Linked DNA regions of Homo sapiens: region 1 is linked to region 2. The links are contacts of gene promoters, found by promoter capture Hi-C in blood cells and fetal thymus (Javierre and others, 2016). All regions are on one chromosome and are shown on one strand. Each heading gives the region's core, a stretch centred on a gene start or on the middle of the fragment in contact. The rest is flanking DNA. Distances are from core to core; before and after follow the strand shown.

What was found. The method cuts DNA at HindIII sites, captures the fragments that hold promoters and counts their contacts. A CHiCAGO score of 5 or more calls a contact.
Region 1: a fragment that was not itself captured here is called in contact with the fragment with the promoter of LHFPL1 in region 2 in 1 of 17 cell types (non-activated CD4 T cells); the score reaches 6.3 in non-activated CD4 T cells.

The regions. Positions count from the first base shown.
Region 1 is chrX:112,821,019-112,824,860 of GRCh38, forward strand. It overlaps AMOT (angiomotin), which reads right to left. Exons shown (of 14, transcript NM_001113490.2): 4 at 1,237-2,170. The coding sequence starts at 2,108. Among named protein-coding and RNA genes, the nearest start is that of AMOT, 18 kb to the right of the region's middle. The HindIII fragment of the contact is 705 bases long and covers 2,190-2,894 here.
Region 2 is chrX:112,678,034-112,681,930 of GRCh38, forward strand. LHFPL1 (LHFPL tetraspan subfamily member 1) reads right to left here and starts at 1,905. Exons shown (of 4, transcript NM_178175.4): 1 at 1,796-1,905. The HindIII fragment of the contact is 5,630 bases long and covers 1-3,897 here.

The sequences.
Region 1 (3,842 bases), core at 1,292-3,791, 140 kb after region 2:
GCTACAAAAACAGGACCTGCAGGGGAAAAAAAAGAAATACCAGGAAATGCTAGGTGCCTTCTCTCACTTTCACCCTACTCCACCCCATGACTGCCTTCTCTCCTGAGTCACTCAATGAACTTCAAGCCAGAAGGTTTTTTCCAAAATGAGCAAGTAGGGTACAGGAGACAAAGAGGTAGACATCAAAGGACATCACAGACCTAGTCTGTGAGCCGCATATAAATGAAGGCCAGCCTAGGACCAAGCACTTCAAACCTGATGGTCACCCATCATTACTCATGGCCATGAGGCAGGATACCACACTTAAATGCCACCATCGGTCCCCATGGTTTAAACCTTTTCTCCTGCCCTATATGTGGAAATACTACTGATCAGAGACATGGCCCAAATACTAACAACAGGAACAATGAACAGAATCATAGAATCATAAGGTCTAGTGAATATAGCAGTGGGACAATGGACCTCTGAATAATTAAGAAGTATATATAGGAACAACTAAATATATAAGACAGAAATGGTAATATTTTTCCTTCTGTATTTTAGCATCTGACCAAAATTTCTATATGATGTGATGGGAATTTAACTCAGAGGTTTAAAAATGTGACAGGCAACTAATAAATTCTCTACAAAAAAAAGATACAACAGTCCAGATTTCATAAACTGCAAGCATAAGGCAAGTAACATTCTGAACCTACATACATACATAGCTCCCCCACCATAACATCTGGGTGTTTGTTTAGTCCAAAAGAATAATGGTAATTCTATGGAAAAATGGTAACTGACAAGAAATACACAGATTTGTTTGCAAAAATAAATGATGAAAGCTTCATGGAGGGGAATATGTGCAAGTGATAGGATGTTCCAGACTAATTAAAGTGCAAGGTAATTTGCTTCTACCTCTCAAGGAGGGCTTATGAGAAACACAGACCCCTTCAACATCCTAGGAGAGAGGACAGCAAATAGCTGCTGAAAACAAGACTTTTGCTCCTGTTCGTCCACTAGGCAGTTGAGGCCATGCTCAACCTACAAAGCTAAGGGATTGTTAATACAGTGCTAATTATGGCTAAAGAGGATACAAATTCGGGTTGGCAGGCAATTCACGAAGCCAGAGGCCTGTCATGCATTGCAGAGTTTGTTATATCAAACACCTGCCCGTTCCTTCCCTAAGATTCCCAACACACAGCAGAAGCTGGTTGGGGATGAGGTCAGGAAATGACAGAAACAGAACTCTCTTACCTGGCTGCTCCATACTCAGGGGGATGCTGATACCTCATCAGTTGCCCCTCTGTTCTCCCTGGCTGGTTCAGGCGATGCTCACTATAGAAGTGCCCTGGCTCTTGGGGCTTGCACACTACAGATTGGGGTGGCATGCCCTTGAAGGGATATTCTGGTGGGGGGCCTCGGTGTTCCATGCCCTTCAGGCTATGCTGGTTAGGAAGTGGCCCTTGGGCCTTGTAGAATTCACTGGAACTTGTGGGATTCTTGTAGAGGTCATTGGGTTGTGGTGGGGAGAGGGGAGCACTGGTAACAGGTGGATGGGCCTTAACTCCACTGGTGGCCAGTGACATCTGCATTAGTCGTTCACTCAAGGAACGGACATGCCCTTGCTTAAGGTCTCTGAGTCCCTCATCTTGGTGCATCTTTCCAGGATTGAGCCGCTGAACTGATGGGCGTCCCTCAGTCCTCATCTTCTGGTTGGTGACTCCAGTGACATAGAAGGCAGCTCCAACACTGGCATGCTGTTGGCCCCGAAAGTACTGGGACTGGACCTTGGCTTCTTCATAGGTCGGGAGTTCTTCATTATTTTGCATTCGAGGAGACAGCTGCTTCTCCATGATGAGGTTTTCTGACTGGATTTCCTGCCCCTGGGGTTCTTGTCGAGCAGCATGAGCCACAAGCTGTTGGTGGTGGTCTTGGGGACTCAACACATCACTCTGAGGGCCCGGGTTCCCACTGCCACTGGGGAAAGGAGGGCCATTCCCTGTGGCTTGCTGGTGTATGGCAAGCAGGCTGCGATTCTCACTAGGATTGCCATAGCGAAGCTGCTCTTGTAGCAAACGCTGCAATACCGTGGTCCCTCCACTTGGCTGTTCTTCAGAATTTCTCATCTCTATTGCTGGTGGTGCCTTGTGAAGAGAGAGAGAAATTGGGCACCTGGGCTGCCCTTGACCTGGGAAGGGGAAACAGGAAGCTTAACACCCAGTTGATGGATAAATCAGTCCTCTAAAGGGAAAGAAAATGGATATTGGAGGGTGAGGATTCGATTGCAGAAACAAAGTAGAGAATTGACTCTAAAATTAATAGATTGTTGGGGATTCCAGGCCCTAGCACTGATATGATGAAGAACATGGAGGCATAAGAGCTCTAGGTTTTCTCTTTCACTTTTAGCATGAGTTAAATATTCAATCTGGACTTAACTCCTAAGAATGCTTGAGAAACCTGGAACAGTCAACTAGGGTAATCAAAGGGGGTAACTTTTCAAGGTCCATATTCACAGGCTTCATCTCTCTGTATTCTATTTAAAGCAAAAACCCAAATCTTATGGCTGTGGAGGTGGGGGCAGGACAGTGGGGAAAGTTACCCCATAACAGGATTTGTAAAGCAGCTCAGCATATGAAGGCAGCTACAAAATGCAAAATAAAGACTCAAATAAATAAAAGGTGAAGAGAGCTTGGCTTGCACCAGACAGTAATGATCCCTGCCTCGATGCAAATCTTTTTCTCTGATCTCATAAGGCTCTGAAACATCTTTTTAAAAAATCATTTTCATAGTCTCCATTTTGGATGCTCCTTGGCTTAATAAGAGAAGGACTTGGAATACTTATTACTGACAAAGTTGCCTTTCAGCTCTCCAGAAACAGTCATTTAGATTTGCTGTTATTGTTATTGGGTAGAAGCTTAAAGGGGAAGCCTCTTTTATTTGAAGTGTGCCTCTGACAAAATTTAGAAATTGAAAAATATAAAGATCATCCTTCTGGAAAGGGTATACGATTAGCATATCCCCTCCCTCACCATCAATTCTTCTGAACAGGTACTATGGGTTGACTGAAACTGATTTTAGTAACACAATTTAATATTCAAATTCTAATCATACTATTGGTTTACAGGGTATACAACTGATTCCTCTTTTCTTGATGTCTATTTTCTCAACAAAAAATGGCTGGTAGGTGATTTCTCTCTCTCAGCACTGTATAGTACACACTAATTCATTAGAGATTCAAAAATTCTTTGGGCAGAATCTGTCAATGTTAAGTATTGGAATTAAGTAATAATGTTCAATAATGAAACTTTCACTCTAAGGATCTTCAGTAATTGGTGGAGAATGAACATAATGTCACACGAAAAGTCACAATAAAGGTCAGTTTAACCAGCATCAGGTTTCTAGATGGCAACTCTGGATCCCTGGCTCCCAGGCTCTTATTTCTATGATATTAAGTGGCCTGCAATCTCTCTGGAAACACGAACCCCTTTCTTTTGGTCATGCAGAGAGAGAGTGACCCAGAATGTACATATAGTATATGAAGAAAGTTCATCTTCTCTCTTTCTTCACGTCTTGTTGGTTACTGCTACCTGGCTTCCAACTGTTGCGCTGGGCAGTCTGACAACACGAAGGGACCCTCCAAAGTCCCTCTCATCATATTCTCTTGGGAAGTGCACACCAGTGGGTTAAGCAACCCAGTCCCTTTTCCATTCCTCCCAATGTGCCTCCAGGACTCCTGTACTTGAACTGTCAAATTGGGATATTCTGATAGGCTGACAAGCATAATATATAAATCCTTTTTGGTGCCCAAAACTAGAGAGATGACTACCAAATTACTTTTCCCTGCTCACAAACTGGAAACA
Region 2 (3,897 bases), core at 655-3,154:
TTAAAAGGCAGGAAGCCAGAGACTAAGTGGAGAGAAAGGACTAACTGAGCAATTGATAACTTTGAAATGATCAACTCTAAATAAATATATTTGACCATGCAGAGACAAAGAGAGCTCATAAAAAGAACCTCCACATCAGGCCCTGGGCTATTTCCTTTCTCCAGAGTTTGAGACTGGAAAGGTAGGAACTGGAATAACCTCCCCAAATTTCATATGAGCTTCTCTCTCCTTCCCTCTCCCCAAGATGCTGCTCCTTGAGCTCCCCATCTATCCTATGATTTTAAAAGTGAGGTACCAATGAGAGATCTTCATCTCAGTTCTTATTCTGGCTAGACAGGTGCCATCATCTTCAGTGATAAGCTGGTTGGCTACGAGTTCTATCTCACACTCTCAGCTGGTTAGAAACTACCCCTATCAAGATCCCTGGCAAGACATTGTTAAGCCCTAAACCCCAGCCCTGTTATTGTTGCCCATTAGTCTCTCCACTCCATTGTATAAGCTGGGAATAAAATGTCACCACAGCTGACCACTTCTATTGAGTGAATCTGGCCCATATGGGAAGAAGATGGGCTGATTGCTTTTCCAATCACTTCAGAGAAGTTGAGAGGCAGCATGGTATATCAAGAATGTTTGTCTCAACAGAATCACTTTCAATGCTTGTTCAGAATCACTTTCAATGCTTGTTCAAAATGCAGACTATGTCACCCCCTCCTTGATTCACTGAATTCGAATTTATGGGAATTCATATTGTTAAAAATCCTCAATTTATTCTAATGGGAACTAATGATTGAGGAATACTGTTTTAGTGGAAAAGTCACAATTTTGGAATCAGATCAGAGACAGAGTCCTGAGGTCTGCCCCTTACAGGCTATATGCACATAAAAAGATCACTTAAAACCTCTGAGTTTTGGTTTCATTTATAAAATGGAAATGATTAAGCATAAAATTCAAGTGAAACATCTGCACTATACCTAACACCAGAGTAGGTATCAATTCTCTCCCTTTCTACCAGAAAAGACCCTATTCTCTCATAAGTAATGGAAAAGACTTGAAACCACCTAAGATTTAGAACATCTCTCCTTTCCCCTTTCTCTCCCCACAACCACTCCATGGGTGATTTTTCCTCACCCCTAGGCTTCATTCTATTTTCAGTTCCCCACCACAAAATGAAACCACTTGGCCAAGTGTTCTTTGCAAGAATGGATTTATAGTTTAAGTATTTCAGGTTCTTCTGGAAATTGTCATGCCTTGGCACATAGTAGGAACTCATAAATATTTACCAAATGGATGCATTCTTTTATTTCCAGCCTGAGAGGCCTCAATATTTGCATTTCAGTTTAACTTCATTACCCCATTTCCGTCGCATAACCCCTTAGATTTAGGCAAATCCAGGAGATCAACCTACCACATTAGCAAACCGGATCCATTTTTACTTGTATAGACAGGTCATAACAAAATCACTCTCTCCACTCCCAGAAACAGGCACTTCATCTCCTCAGGTTACCAACTCCCCTGGGGAAACCAACTAGCACTTAACCCTTAGGTCCTCAAATCTTGTCAATATGAAATAGGAATCCAGCCCTGATTCATCTTAGCCTCTGTGCAAACAACGGACTATGAAGAAATAAAAAAGCACCAGGCTGCCCTCGGGTAGAAAACGGCTTCTCTGAGCTTTGAGATGAAAGGACAGGAAACCTGAGAAAGGAAGGGGAGAAGGGGGGGCTGAGCAAGGGGAGAGCAAAGCAGTTTCTTATCCAGCTGTTTGAATTGCATTTGGCCCAAGTTGCATATTTACCTTCTGACCACGAAGGCTGACTGACTTGTTCCCTCTCTTCAGGCTCAGATCTCAGAAACAACTTCTCCTTACAGCTTGTTAGACAAGGATGGGAATACTAGCTGCCCTTTGCAGTGATGCCTGAAAACCTTGCTTTACCTTTGGGAGAAAGGGGCGGAGTCCAACCTAATGGGGATTAACTCCAAACACGCTGGAGGCTTCAAACCCAGCCTCAGACATACAGGCACTTGAAATAGAAAGTAGCTTAGTGGGCACAGAGTCCCCAAACCTCCAACCTCACAGCGGACAAAGCAGCTCTGTGTGTGTGTGTGTGTGTGTGCGCGCGCGCGCGCGCGCGCGCGTGTGTGTGTATGTGTGTCCGCGCGAGCGCGCGCGCATGCGCGCAGGCATGCCCGCGCTTGAACTGCGTTATCTTACTTCCTCACTTGCTGCCCAAAAGCCTGCTGAGGAACAGAGATTTTCTCTAATTTTCCTCCAATGCCCTAGATAATCTCTACCATGGTAGGTAGCAGACCCATGTGGCTAGAAGTGACTGAGAGAACACATGCCTAAATAGAATAAGACAGAACAACCTCTTCTCCCCAAACTGATTTCCATTGCCTGATGGGGAAGATGCTCCAGCAGAGCAATCTTTGGCTCCAAGATGTAATGAGCTTACATTTCAGAATTTGTGGAAATCATACATTGAAAGGAATAACTAATATATTTTTATAGTAATAATACAATCAAAAGTCAGTGTTTAATTTATCCCAGTGCACTAATAACTGCTACTCTGCTTGGGAAAAGAGCTGAGTGGTCTGGAGATGAATGGAGCTTTGCCTGATGTTCTACTCCAACCCGATGTCATATTTCCCACCTGTGAATGTCCCTGACACTTCATATTTGGGGAAACTTATTATCTTCTACCTAGTATCATTATTATTATTATTATTTTCGTACATGTCTCTTTTCCCCTCCTAGATGGCCTGTGAATGGGGAACTTTGCTGAACAAATCCAAATGATTTAGAAGGAAGAATGGTTACATTAACAGAGCACACTGGACTGATCCAAAGTATCCATGCTTCTCTGATGGCCCAGTTCCCTCACCAGAATGCTACAAAGGTGATTAGGCCTATTTTCTAGCATGTTGTGGCAATAATTCAAAATATGACCGTAAATTAACATATTAATTGTACCGTGATTATTTAATGAACTTACAAAGTTTCTCCTGCCTTCTGTGTATACCACCTGTGTCCTGCCTTTTATCAGTGATATGATCCTATATTCATGCATGTATTTGTCTATCTAGCAACTTTCCATCAGCAATTTTTACCGTTTTGTTCTACAACACAGTGATAAATCCATTCCCATCTGTAATCATGGCTTACTGAGGCCATCATGTTTCTGGGGGAAGCACAGATGACTCCTTAGGTGGAATGTTAGACTTTTGGCAGTGTAAGCCCCCCAACTAAGTTTTATAACCTCCCAGCTGTCATTCCCTTAAGAACCATTGCTTCAGACATAGGATTATGTAAAAAGAAATGTTAGGCCCTCCTTCATTAAATATAGGTTAATATTAACTGACACGTAGTAACTGTGTGAGATACGGCTGAAAATGTTGACATATAAAAAATAGATGATCCCCACTCTATGCACAGCAGTAAATATTGCCCTTTGCTTAGTGACTACACCTGTCATTTGGGGAACCTATCATTATTTGAAACTCTAAGAAGAATACCATTTTACTTTCCTCTTTTATCCTCTTTTCTCTATAGACACTTAAGTGTATAATAAATAATAATCTAATTTATTGGACAAAATTTTATTTCCTGTTCTTAACAGTTGAACGCTCTCTCAGAAAAAAATTGCTTGCATCTTGTGGCTCTTGATATGTTTTCAATTAAAAATGCTCTTCAGCCTTGCTTTCGTAAGATTATGTGGAAAGGCTTGAGAAAGGAACACTTCTTGTAATGTATTTAGGGGACAGGATGGTGCTAAAATGGGTATTGGAAAGGAAACTAGGGAATACCTAAATCCTGCCTTCAATCAGTCTGGAATAAGAGATTCTGCAAGGGTAAGATATGGGTAACAGGTGATTCTGATATATACCCCCATCCCCATC